Linked DNA regions of Homo sapiens: region 1 is linked to region 2. The links are contacts of gene promoters, found by promoter capture Hi-C in blood cells and fetal thymus (Javierre and others, 2016). All regions are on one chromosome and are shown on one strand. Each heading gives the region's core, a stretch centred on a gene start or on the middle of the fragment in contact. The rest is flanking DNA. Distances are from core to core; before and after follow the strand shown.

The links. The method cuts DNA at HindIII sites, captures the fragments that hold promoters and counts their contacts. A CHiCAGO score of 5 or more calls a contact.
Region 1: a contact is called between the fragment with the promoter of PIH1D2 here and the fragment with the promoter of CLDN25 in region 2, in 1 of 17 cell types (activated CD4 T cells). The highest score is 6.6, in activated CD4 T cells.

Annotation. Positions count from the first base shown.
Region 1 is chr11:112,070,761-112,078,191 of GRCh38, reverse strand. It overlaps PIH1D2 (PIH1 domain containing 2), which reads left to right and starts at 4,175. Exons shown (of 6, transcript NM_138789.4): 1 at 4,175-4,212; 2 at 4,987-5,194; 3 at 6,434-6,557; 4 at 6,909-7,154. The coding sequence starts at 5,018. It overlaps NKAPD1 (NKAP domain containing 1), which reads right to left and starts at 3,893. Exons shown (of 6, transcript NM_018195.4): 1 at 3,276-3,893; 2 at 2,549-2,625. The coding sequence starts at 2,617. RefSeq lists enhancers at 3,401-3,450, 3,511-3,630, 4,041-4,090. The HindIII fragment of the contact is 10,336 bases long and covers 3,199-7,431 here.
Region 2 is chr11:113,775,612-113,782,066 of GRCh38, reverse strand. CLDN25 (claudin 25) reads right to left here and starts at 2,271. Exons shown (of 1, transcript NM_001101389.1): 1 at 1,582-2,271. The coding sequence starts at 2,271. The coding sequence ends at 1,582. The HindIII fragment of the contact is 9,706 bases long and covers 1-6,455 here.

The DNA.
Region 1 (7,431 bases), core at 2,926-5,425, 1.7 Mb after region 2:
AAAATAAGTTACTAAAAATAACTTTACATTACAGAAAAGTAACTAACTGGCCGGGCACAGTGGCTCACACCTGTAATCCCAGCACTTTGGGAGGCCAAAGCAGGCAGATCATGAGGTCAAGAGTTTGACACCAGCCTGACCAACATGGTGAAACCCCGTCTCTAATAAAAATACAAAAATTAGCCGGGCGTGGTAGCATGCACCTGTAATCCCAGCTACTCAGGAGGCTGAGGCAGGAGAATCGCTTGAACCCTGGAGGCAGAGGTTGCAGTGAGCCGAGATTGCACCACTGCACTCCAGCCTGGGCGATGGAGTGAGACTCTGTATCAACAAAAAAAGAAAAAAAAAAAAAAGCAACTAACTGAAAATACAATCTGACTAATTATTGGGCTACAGACTGGGCTATGATCAGGAACCTGGAAAACAAATTGGTTTCTCTAGAAAGTGGCTGAACAGTCCAATCCAGTAAATCTCAAATATGTGGAAATCTTCCCCAATAGAATTTTTAAACCGCTGCACAGACAAACATCACCTTATCAATCTTGCAATTATGCTGCGATTAGCAAATGATAATGCCACATTTCCAAAATGCAATATGATTTTAATTATATCATCTCAATTGAACCTTAAGCAATCTCATGAGGAAAATATAGCAGCTACCATTATTACATTTTACTGTAAAGAAACAAAAGCTCAGAGATTTTAACAAAGTCAAAAAACTAGTAAGGACAGGTCTTTAAACTCCCTAAGCTAAATCTCTTCTGGTAATATTATAATTTTTGTCAAAAATAAAATAAAATAAAATAATCAGTATGGCTGCTAGGGAATTTCTTGAAAAGCAGAATGTGATTACCCAAAGAACACATTTTATTTCTAAGTCTTCCTGCATAATTTCATTAGATCTGTGCTAGATTTATCTTTTTCTAGCTACCATTTTAAATCTAAGCTTACTATATAACTAGGGGCAGGTTAACATAATTGCATAGGCAGCTCGGGTAACAGTTTTACCCTCGCCCATAATTTTAAAAATCAGGTGATATGATAATAATAATATGATCAAACCAAAAGTAGTACAGTTTACTGAAGAAAACTAAACCAGGGGCCTTGGCCCTCTTTTCATTATATGTGCTCTCCTAGGTGACCTCATCTACTCTCATGACCTCTTATCATCAACCTATACATCAATAATCCCGAAACCTTTATGTCCAGCCCCAACTTTTCTCCTCTACTCCAAGTCTGAATTTTCAACTGCTTGGACATCCTATAAGCACCTCACCATCAACATGTTGAAAACCAAACTAATTACCTTTCCTATCATAATTGTCCCATTTTTTGTTCTTTATCTCAATTAACAGAATTGTCATCATCTACCCAGTCACATAGGTGGTTACACAGTTGACCTTGAACAACAGGAATCTCAACTGTGCAGGTCCACTTATCCTCAGATTTTCTTCCACCTCTGCCACCTGTAAGATAGCAAAACAAGTCCCTCTTCTTCCTCCTCAGCCTACTCAATGTGATTTTCTTAATGAAATGTTGTTTTCTCTAGCTACTTTACTATAAGAATACAGTATATAATACATGTAACATAAAAAATATGTGTTAATCCACTGTTTATGGTATCGCTATGGCTTTCAGTCAGTAGTAGGCTATTGGCACTTACATTTTGAGGGAGTAAAAAGTTATACATGGATTTTCGACTATGCAGGGGGTTGATGCCCCTAGCCCCTGCATTGTTCAAGGGTCAACTGAATTAGATTCCATTCTTATCATTATAATCTAATTAGCCACCAACTTCTTTGGATTCTATCTCCTAAATTCCTCTTCTTCATCCCTGCTGTCACTAATTTCATGCGAACCCTCATCATCTCTCACCTGTAATACTGCAATTGCCTCCTAATTACTCTCCCTTCTGTATCTCCCCATCTGATTCATTCCCTACCCAGCTGACAAACCATCTTTCTAAAATATAACTATGATCATGCCACACCCTGTTTAAAAACATTTGATGGCTTCTTTATTGCCTAGAGGAAGAAGTCTCAGCTCCAAACATCACAATCCAACTCTAATTACCACTGAGGCCTTATCTTCTGCCACTATCCCCTACCTTCCCTGCTTTCTGGATAAATTTCTTGCCATGCCCCAAGTGATTAATGCTCTTTCTCGTTGCCATATTAATGCATGATGCTGTCTATCCAGAATGATATTTCATACCTGGTAAACGTATACCTATTCAAGAACCAGTTCAAAGATCAGCAGCTGAAATACCACTAATTCTGTAAAATCTTTTCTAATTCCCCAGTGTAGATTTTATTATTTCCTCCTTAGTGCTCCAAAGCACTTTGCAAATATCTCTGTTATACAGTACTTATCAAACTGTATTATAATTATCTATTTTATTCATCATTTTATTTCCTACTGTGTACGGAAGCTTCCAAAAACTAGATGACAAGAATATTCTTTGTATCTCCCAGTTGTTCCAAAATAATGCTTGGCACACTGCTTGCCTTCAGTAAGCGTTGAGGAGTAACTAGGTTGTACCTCCCACCTTATTGTGAGCATCTGTGTGCCGGATGACATTCCTCAGGAGGACCTTCCCCAGTGGAATCCGGGACATTCTTCAATCTGAAATGAATCAACAAATAACGTTTAGTAATAATTTCTGTTATTACTTTATCTTTTCTTGAAGTTTTATAAAGAAGCATATGAGGTACAGGAAAGATCACTGAACTAGAAGTCAGAGATTCTAAAGAATAGTTTTCCCTTTACCATTAAAAGAGGGAAATGCCTAAACACACTAATGTGAGATGAAAGGAGATAATGTACATTAAAGTTCTTTGAAAATGCACAAGACTACATAAAATTAAGTGCTTTCATGAGCACCATTTTATTTAATCCTCATAACTACTTTTTATATGAGGCAAGTATCTCCATCCCTATTTTGTAGATGAAGTTCCCTTAAAGCTGTAACGTCCCAAGCCACATAGTCCCAGGCAAATGATGTATGTCACTGTCTAAATTAAAAATCAAACCTCCAATCCCAATATAGTTTGCACTGAAGCAAATACGTAGATTTGAGAGTGTCAGGAACCACGGGTGTCAACAGTAACAGAAACTGATTACTCAAAACATCAAATGCAAAGATGTCCTAAATTTCTCCATTTGGGGGCATTTTATTTCCTACTTGCTACGGAAGCTTCCAAAAACTAGATGACAAGAATATTTTCGTGTGTAGCTAGCAGGAGCTTTGTGCAACCACCCCAACGCTCACTCACCCCTTGATCCTGAGGAAATCAGGCATCTTGCTAGTGAGACGAAGAACCACTCCATTACAAGATCTCCTCCGACCCAGGAAGCCAAGGAGTCAGGGCTCAAAGGCAGCTCTGCAGCTTCACCCGAGTCCTTCGTGAAAACGCAGCCTTCCCACTGGTTACTCTGCCCTCACCTGTGGCCCAGGCCACTGCCGCGTTTCCCCCAGCCCAGACCGACAGGCAGATCTCTCTCCCGGACTGAGGCCGGAGGCTGAGCCGGGGCGGAATTCGGACAGCCCGGTTGACCTGGGCATTCCCCGCTCACGCTCCTCTAGGACGAACCCCGGGGGTAAGTTTCACTCCCCAGAAAGGCTGGGAACGCTTTGGATGGCTACGGCCTTCGGTTGGGCCCCAGAAAGTATCTAGGGAGCCTGAAGCGGGGGTTGAGGTTTCCAAGTGGAAGACAGAGGAAATATCCCCATCTTTGTCACCGGGATCCCTGTTCCCCAGCGGCCTCGGAGCTCCCGGTAACCTTCCCTCCAAACGCCCTCCCCACACAAATACACACAAACACACCCATACCGTGCGCCGCAGCCTCGCGTGGCGGGGGGTAGGGGGGAAGAAGTGGTTTGGGAGAAAAAGGAGGAGACTTCCTTTTCAGGCCGGAAGTCGTGCTCCTGAGAAATCGTCCCACCAACAGGCAGCCCAGAGACTCCCACAAGGGAGGGTTTTCAGGACACTCCAGAGGTTGACGGGTGCAGAAGGAAGGCGGGCGCTTTCCTGGAAGAGAAGTGGGTCAGGCCCAACTGAAAAGCAAGCCTGGCACCAGAAGGGGGACATTCCGGAACTAGATATGAAGAGACTTTTCTCCCTGAAGTTCCCCGGACCCAATTAGATGTTGTACCCAGGCTGGTTACCCTGGTAACAGGCGTCGCGGTTTGTCAAGGAACTGAGAGAAGAGGTGGGTTTGCCAACCTATAGAATGATTACCCGTTAGAACTGAGAGAAGAGGTGGGTTTGCAGACCTATGGAATGATTATCCGTTAGTTAAGTTTCCCGTTTAGCATAACCCTTACACAGTAATTGAAGAATCTAAACCTCTTTTCCTCATTCTAAAGATGCTGTGGGACACCTCTCCAATGGGAGAAGAGGCTAAGGAGATTTATCTGAAGACGTAGAGAAGTGTCCCAGCCTCTCTATTAGCTTACTTAATCTCGCAATAATCCTATGGTAGAGGTATTATCGTCTTCATTTTGAACAGAACATTAATTGCTCAAGGTCACAGAGCTAGTGAGAGATAGAACTAAGACCGGAATCTAGGCATTCTGGCTCACAAGTCCATGCTTTGAAATACTAAACTATACTGAGGATTAAGGAAGTCTTATGTGGCCCTCACCCCACACCACACCTCTGGCAATTTCAGAACTGGGGAGCCACCAGTCAGGTGTTGGAACAAGAAGATCAGGAAACCCAGACTTAAAATGATTACTCTGACTTGTCAGGGTCCAAATAGAAGTAAGGCCTTATCTGAGAGGACAATGTGAGAATTTAGGAAGAGGTACTAGATAATTAAAGAATAAGGAAAACATAAAGTGGTGCTGATCCACAACCTTTTAGACACAAATGCTGTCCTAACTTCACCAAAACAATTCCTGACCCATTCCACCTCCCCAAAGCAGAAATGAATCAATAATTACACAGACAGTTTTCTTCCTGAAGTCGTGTTTTTCCACAGGCTTAAGAAAATTATTCACCACTCATAAGTCATGGAGACATCCTCAAAAGGTCTGCTTACCCAAGTTACTCAGTTTTGGAACCTCCTAGATGATCTAGCTCAGAGTGACCCTGAGGGCTATGAGAAGTTTATTCAGCAGCAGCTGAAAGAAGGGAAACAGCTCTGTGCTGCCCCAGAACCACAGCTTTGTCTACAGACCAGGATTCTGGTATGTCGAGTTGGTGCCAGGGATGGGGAGGTCTTGAATGAAATGATCCCAGAATAACCAGAGAATACTTTACACTTAGGTATTGCTAATTTTTTTTGTTTTTTTTTTGTTTTGTTTTGTTTTGTTTTGTTTTTTGAGACAGAGTCTTACTTTGTCACCAGGCTGGAGTGCAATGGTGTGGTCTTGGCTCGCTGCAACCTCTGCCTCCCGGGTTTAAGCGATTCTCCTGCCTCAGCCTCCCAAGTAGCTGGGATTACAGGTGTGTACTACCATGCCCGGCTAATTTTTGTATTATTAGTAGAGGCGGGGTTTCACCATGTTGGCCAGGCTGGTCTTGAACTCCTGACTTCAGGTGATCCACCTGACTCAGCCTCCCAAAGTGCTGGGATTACAGGCATGAGCCACTGCGCCTGGCAGACTTTTTTTTTTTTTTTTTTTTTTTTTTTTTGAGATAGGGTCTTGCTGGCTCTGTCGCTCAAGCTGGAGTGCAGTGGCACAATCACAGCTCACAATCACAGCTCATTGCAGCCCAAGCGATCCTCCCACCTCAGCCTCCCAAGTAGCTGGGATCACAGGTGGGCATCACCACACCCGGCTAATTTTTAAATGATTTTTGTAGAGACAGGGTCTCCCTATGTTTCACAGGCTAATCTCGAACTCCTAGGCCTCAAGCAACCCTCCTACCTCAGCCTCTCAAAGTACTAGGGTAACATACGTGAGCCACCACCCCAGTCTGGATTCCTAATTAAAAGCCAGCAGCCTTGGGGAAATCAAATAACAACAGTATAATCAAACGCAGTTTTAATACATGAAATGACTTACTTGGAGCCTAAAATTCTTTCATTCCTGTGGTGAGTGGCTTTTAGGATATTATTTTTTAAATGTTTTTGTTTTTGTTTTTTTTGAGATGGAGTTTCACTCTCGTCACCCGGGCAGGAGTGCAATGGCACAATCTTGGCTCACTGCAACCTCCGCCTCCTGGGTTCAAGCGATTCTCCTGCCTCAGCCTCCCGAGTAGCTGGGATTACAGGTATCCACCACCACACCTGGCTAATTTTTGTATTTTTAGTAGAAACGGAGTTTCACCATGTTGGCCAGGCTGGTCTCAAATTCCTGACCTCAGGTGATCCGGCCGCCTTGGACCCCCAAAGTGCTCGGATTACAGGCGGGAGCCACCATGCCTGGCCTTAAATGGTTTTAAACTAGGTTTTGAGATGTGCAAAATTATTTGCTTTCCAGAAACCAAAAGAAAAAATACTTTTTATCAACCTGTGTCAGTGGACAAGGATCCCAGCTCCCCAATCAACCACTCATCCAGTACCTCTAACTGTTGGCAAACCAGAAGATACAACTGAGATATCAGGTACAAATAATTGAGAGAAAGCACATTGTAAAAATTTTATTAGGAATGGACAAGATCTTACTTGGTTGAGAGCATTTCAAGTAAAACTCTTTATTTGTTGATAATATAATTACAATTAGTGTATCTTTATGCAAATTTAATACTGTTTAACTTTTGTAATAAGGTGAGCTGTTTTAATCCATGCAAAAGTGCCAAGAAATGTCATAATTGCTGTAGCACTACTGTGATTACCTCTGAAAAATACAGGAATATTCTCTAGCTTTATCAGGAATATGGTTTAATATATTGCCTGACAGTATCATTAGTGCAACAATTTTTCTTCATTTCATACCCTTTCAATTACACACACAGATGCTTACACAGTCATTGATGTTGCCTACAATCCTGATGTTCTTCATGCAGCAGAAAAGGACCAAGTGAAAAAAAATCAGTTAATTCAGATGGCCATGAAATGCATTGAGGAGAAATTCCAGTTCACCCTCTCACACTCTTACCATATTACCAAATTTAGAATAAAAGGAAGCATTCAAAGAATGAAACAAAATCTGATGGGAATCCAAACTGATTCCATAGATTTAAGAGAAAAAATGAGAAGGGGTAAGTTGATGATTGTAAATGGAAAATTAAACTGCTTTAAGATGTTTTTGGATCCTGTATACATTTTGCAAACTAGAAATCTCTATTTTAAAAGGTGAAAAACTTAAGATAGAAAAATGCAAATATTAAATATTAGAAATATCATATCCTTGATTTTTAAATCCTGAAAAATTTTCAATCAAATTCTTTGGTTTAAGATTCTTTTGGCTTGATTCCCAAACTAATTTAACTGCAGCTTTATCTACCATCTCTACTAACACCACATATATTATAGCTC
Region 2 (6,455 bases), core at 1,022-3,521:
ATCTCGTGATATTGGGGCTATTTTATCAGGAGGCGAGAGGCGTTGTGAGACCTCAGAGCTGAGATGACAAAGCACAGCACCAGCTTGGGGAGGGCGGAATGTCCCTGGTACTGTGAGGAATGCAGCACGCCTCTGAACCTGGAGAAGTGACCTACTTAGGGCATTAGGAGCCATCCCCTTTAGCTGCTCTCCTGAGGGAATTGTTGGCAGGGCCAATGGTGATTCTTGAACTGATTACAGGAGTGGAGGACAGGTGGCAGGGAGAGGAACAAGGTGGATGCTGCAGGATAATTGCAGCTGACAAACAGGTTTATGAGCAACAGGAGGCTCCTCCTTGAGGACCTGCAGAAATGCCAGAGGAAGACCTGAGGTGGGGTAGTCAGGAGAGAGCCTGCCATTGCAGGCAGAGCAAGCAAAGGAACTTAGGTTATCGTTATGGAAGGGACTTGATTTGTAGCCACAACCTGGGTAGGTCTGCTGACACTCAGGTTAAAATTTAAGAGGAGGCCAGAAGTTTGATAACAGCCTGGGCAATATAGCGAGACCCCATTTCTACAAAATATTTTAAAAATTAGCTGAGCTTGGTGGCTCATGCCTGTAGTCCCAGCTACTCAGGAGGCTGAGGCAGGAGGATCCCTTGAGCCTAATAAGAGTTTGAGGCTGCAGTGAGCTATGATCATGCAACTGCACTCCAGGCTGGGCAACAGAGTGAGACCCTGTCTCAAAAACAAAAACAAACAAACAAAAAAACACAGCAAAACAAAATTCAAGGAGTTTATACTGTGATTTTGCACTTGGTAAAAGACATTTCTGAGAAGCTACTTCTTTCATATACATGACCACATTGGGCAGTATTTGGACACAGTCATTCTAAGGTAATCACTGGGTCCCAGTTTGCTTGGGACTTTCCTAGTTTTAGCACCAAAAGTACCTTGTTCTGGGCAAACCAGGAGGGTTGGTCACCCTACCACTCACTCAGACTGACTGTTAACCTTCAGGTGGGGAAGACAGAGTAGACTGCTCATCGCCTCACAATGTAGCAGAAACAAGCCTATGTCTCTCCTTTGGGATATTAAGGATCTATAAAACAGCAAAGGTATATTGTGAAGTTGTCTTTCAAATGGTACACCTGAGGCTGAAAATGGACACAAAGAGAATTTCTGTCCTAAGATGCTGTTCTGGAACAATAATTCATTTTCCTTTGCCAAGGTACCTTCTTCAAGTTTTATTTTTGTAACCTATTCAGAACAGTAAGTGCCTCTTCACACTAGATTTTCTCTGATGGTTGCAATTTTGTAATATATTTTTCCTTAGTAATAAAAGAATCAAATATGTAATTAAGGTTATGAGTTTTTTAAAGCATTTTTATCTAAATAAAATCTCAAATCAGAAAAATACATTTGTTAGACACTGTGCCCTGATTTTTTATTCTGAAATGAGGACTACCATATCATCAAGACAATCACATCCTTGATAAGTGGGACAGTGACCACCAGCCCCAAAATGAAGCAAACAAACCTAGAGTGAGAAAGGAGTCTACAGACATTCCTTTATTCCAGAGATCCTTGGCAGAAGCCAGTCCTAGATGACCAGGTTCCTAGGTCTTAGCATGAGGTGGAAGGAGCCATCTGACTCCTCCACTGGAGCACAGGATAGGGGGACTGTGGGACCAGCCATCAAAGGAAAAGGCACATCTTCTTTTCCCAGGCAGGCCGAGAAGATGAGGAGTAGCCCACCAAGAGCCAGGAAAATACCAGCAGCCCAGCCCAAGTAGAGGGCACCTCCAAACTCCCACCGAGGTATGATGTCAGGGATGCTGTCATCCCAGAAGTCTTGGATTGTGGCATGGGCCACCCAGGAGACTGGAAGGAGGGTAGTGGCTGAAGCGGATGCCTCCAAAGTCCTTCCCAGGAGACCAAGCCGCCTCTTGAATACCCATCTGATCCTGTGAAACTGGAAGCATTCAGACCCAAAGCTGCAGAGCAAAAGCCCCAATAGGCCCAGCCCATGGGAGGCTACCATGAGGATGCGGGCTACCTGGAGCTCCTGGGGCAGAGACAAGAAGGATTCAAAGGCCTTGCACACAGTGGCGACTTCCTCTCGATCCACGCAGACCTCCCAAATCCCCATGATCCAGGTCTCCATCTCGTTCAGTTCCAGATTAAGAGTCTTCCACTGGGGCAGGATGGTGGTAACACAGGAGCAGACCCAGCCAAGGAGGGAGAGAAGTAGCCCCCCGAGCTGGACTTTTGCACGGAAACTCCAGGCCATAGTCACTCCCACCACAGATGCAGAAAGAAAAGGAGCACGAGTGGGTCAGTGACTGGTTAGCAGGGACTACTTTTCAGGAGGCTTGAGTGGAAGATCTTTCACATTGGGAGAGGGCTCTTGTTTCAGTATTCTGAGCAGCAGCTGAGGCAGGTGCCAGGAATTGGCAATGTTTGGGTTTAGAGGGTGTGTCCAATATCGGATGTGGGTGTGAAATCTGGGGGAGGGTCCCATGACCAGCAAAAAAGCCATACAGGGAGCCATCAATACATATTTGATGAATAAATTCATAAACTAAAATCACTCCTCAGCTCTGAGATCACAAGAATGATTGATGTTCTGGAAATATACGTTGATATAATCTTTTTGAAGGGCAACATGACTTTATGTTTCATGCTTTTAAACATATGCATACTTTGACCCAGCACCTTATCTCCAGGAATCTACCTAATGTATCATGAATACGTACAAAGATTTATGAAAATGTCCATTGAAATATTGTTAAGAATTGTCAGTTTTTGTTAATACTTGGCAGCCATTTTAAAGTGATTTTGTAGAAAGAATTTTAATGATTTGAAAAATATTTTTGATATATTGTTAAGTGAGAAAAGCAAGTGACCAAACAGTACATGGAATATATAGAATGCAGCCGGGCACGGTGGCTCATGCCTGTAATCCCAGCACTTTGGGAGGCTGAGGTGGGTGGATTACTTGAGGCCAGGAGTTCGAGGCCAGCCTGGGCAACATGGCGAAACCTCACCTCTACTAAGAAAGTGAAAAAAATTAGCCGGGCATGGTGACACACGCCTGTAGTCCAAGCTGCTTAGGAGGCTGAGGCAGGAGAATCTCTTGAACCTGGGAGGCGGAGGTTGCAGTTAGCCGAGATCATGCCACTACACTCCAGCCTGGGTGACAGAGTGAGACCCCATCTCAGAAAAAAGAAAAAGCCAAAGAATATATAGAAATATGTGCGTGTGTGTGTGCGTGTGTGTGTGCGTGTGTGTGTGTATATGTGTAGACCACAAAATGTTAACATGATTATTTTGGTGATAAAATTATGCATAGTTTTTATTTCCTTATTTGTGCTTACCTATGCATTTTACGCATTTTACACATTTTATAAATTTATCACTTAATATTTTTATTACAAAAAGCCCACAAATATTAATTTTACAAAATAATTTTAAATTCCTCAATCCAAGGAACCTACCCAGACACAGAATATCCCCAGAGGGAGGTGCTCCCTCCCCAGGCTCCCCTTGCTGCTGGGACAGCAGCTATAAATAGATGGTAATCATACCAGCTTCCATTCCTGTTTGTTGCTGCTGCCAAGTAGCAGGTTCTGACAGGAAAGGAAATAATTTGCATTTACTGAGTACGGCTAAATGCCAGACTTTTGGCTAGACACTTTATCCGTATTTAATTTTCACACTGCCACTGTGTGATACATGTTACGTAACTTGCCAAGGTCCCCCAGCTGGTAAACAACAGATCCAACACGAACCAGGCAGCTCAGACTCGGACATTTGATGTTCTTGTCCCCAGGCTGCAGCAGCTGCCCCTGCACACTGGTGACACATCATGTGGGTGAGGCTTAGTCTTTATAGCGAGACAGAGAAGAAAACGGACTTATTCTGTTGGAGTCATGAATGTCTGACTCATGTGTTTCCCTATTCACAAATTAACCTGCTCCACACTGTGGTAGATATGAAGTGAAAGCAAAGGTGTTCCTGAAAGGAAGATGAAGGGGTGGCCTGCCCCTCCACACCTGTGGGTATTTCTAGTCGGGTGGGACAAGAGACTGAGAAAAGAAATAAGACACAGAGACAAAGTGTATAGAAACAACAGTGGGCCCAGGGGACCGGCGTTCAACATACCAAGGACCTGCACCGGCACCGGTCTCTGAGTTCCCTCAGTTTTTATTGATTATTATCTTCATTATTTCAGTAAAAAGGAATGTAGTAGGAGGGCAGGGTGATAGTAAGGAGAAAAACACGTGAACAATAGAATCTACGTCATAATTAAGTTCAAGGGAAGGTACTATGACTGGACGTGCAGGTAAGCCAGATTTATGTTTCTCTCCACCCAAACATCTCAGTGGAGTAAAGAATAACAAGGCAGCATTGCTGCAAACATGTCTGGCTTCCCACCATAGGGTGGTTTTTCTCCTATCTCAGAATTGAACAAATGTACAATTGGGTTTTATACCGAGACATTCAGTTCCCAGGGGCAGGCAGGAGACAGTGGCCTTCCCCTATCTCAACTGCAAGAGGCTTTCCTCTTTTACTAATCCACCTCAGCACAGACCCTTTACGGGTGTCGGGCAGGGTGACGGTCAGATCTTTCTCATCCCATGAGGCCATATTTCAGACTATCACATGGGGAGAAACCTTGGACAATACCCCGCTTTCAAGGGCAGGGGTCCCTGCGGCTTTCCACAGTGCATTGTGTCCCTGGTTTATTGAGACTAGAGAATGGCGATGACTTTTACCAAGTATACTGCTTGTAAACATTTTGTTAACAAGGTATGTCCTGCACAGCCCTAGATCCCTTAAACCTTGATTTCATACAACACATGTTTTTGTGAGCTCCAGATTGGATCAAAGTGGTTGGGTCAAAGTGGCTGGGGCAAAGCTACAAATTAACATCTCAGCAAAGCAATTATTTAAAGTAGAGGTCTTTTTCAAAATGGAGTCTCTTATGTCTTTCCTTTCTACATAGACACAGTAACAGTCTGATCTCCCTTTCTTTTGCCTACAGAAGAGACATCTCCTGAGAAAGGAGGATCTTGAGTTTATCTAACTGATGGCTCAACACCTAAGACATCTGGTATACCAGTGTTTATCCGTGGTGTGAGGGTTTGGAGGAAGGCACACAGAATCATCTGAAGTGCTCTTTTCTCTTTTATGTTTTATTACAGAAAACTTCAAACATATACAAAAGTAGAATGAATTGTATAAAGAAATCCCATATTGCATCATTTCACTTCAAAAATTATCCACTCATCCCAATCTTGCTTCATTTCTACCTGCACCCAGCCCTTCCCTTTCATACTATTTTGAAGCAAATGGGTTGCTTTTTCAAATTTTAAGCGCCTTATGCTGCTTTTATAGCAACATGATGGCAAATACTGTGCAAACGTGGAAACGCTGTCTGATTGTACTGTCCTCTACCAGAAATATGCATTCGCTACTTTGCTTCTTGAATACAGGTATGTCATGTGTATGTGAGCCATGATAGGCCAGGAGGAATCCTTTCAGACTTTGCTCCTGACTTCCTTGCCTTTTCCTGATGATTTATGAACATCTGTGAATTGGGAGACATATAAGCCATGATAAATGTGAACTATGAAGAAGGTGAGGTTAATGAGGGAATACAGAACACATGCATTTATTAATTTCTTTTTTTAAATTCAAGTATTCATTCATTGCTGCATGCATTGACTGTGTGTAGCCATCACATTCCATGCTGCACGCTCTTTCTTCTCCTTTCTCAGCCTAACTCTGGCTCTTCCCTGACTTTTCCTTGGACCTTGAGGAACAGTCTTCACCTTACCCAGTAGTCTCTCTGCTCAGGAAGAAGCAAGAACTTAGGCAGTTGTGTTTTGTGGGTCTGTACACACAGGTTTTCTGGAGGGAGGTCCCAGAACCTCAACCTCAAAGTAGCACTTCCTTTCATTCTCACTTCAGATTTCTCATTACCGTTGTCAAAAGACAAAATTACAACGAGTTTAGTTTAAAGATCTTAATTCACTTTATTTGTGATTCTAGAATCAGGCAACACTTCATTCCATAAAGTAGAATCAGTGTCCCGATGAGCTGAACAGATGAGGTTGGTTTTATAGAAAGAAAAAGGCTGAAGAAAGGAGACACAAAGAACAAAAAGCAGATTGGCTGTTTCAAATTTAATTTCCTGGTAAGGTGGGAACTGAGAAACAGAACAATAGAAAAATAACTGATTGATTGGCATCAGTTTAGTTCAGGTACTTTTTTGTAAGAATTAAAACAGAGGGAACTTCGTTATCATGAAGACTGAAACTGGCAGGTTTGGGAATTTGGTGATTATCTCTCATTCTCCTGATTTCTCAGAAGGTCAGACAGACAGCTTAGTTTTGGTTTGGCGAAGTAGAGCTTTAGCATGAGTGACTCCATTTTGGTTTGGTCTGTTGGGCTTAGTGCAGGAACTCA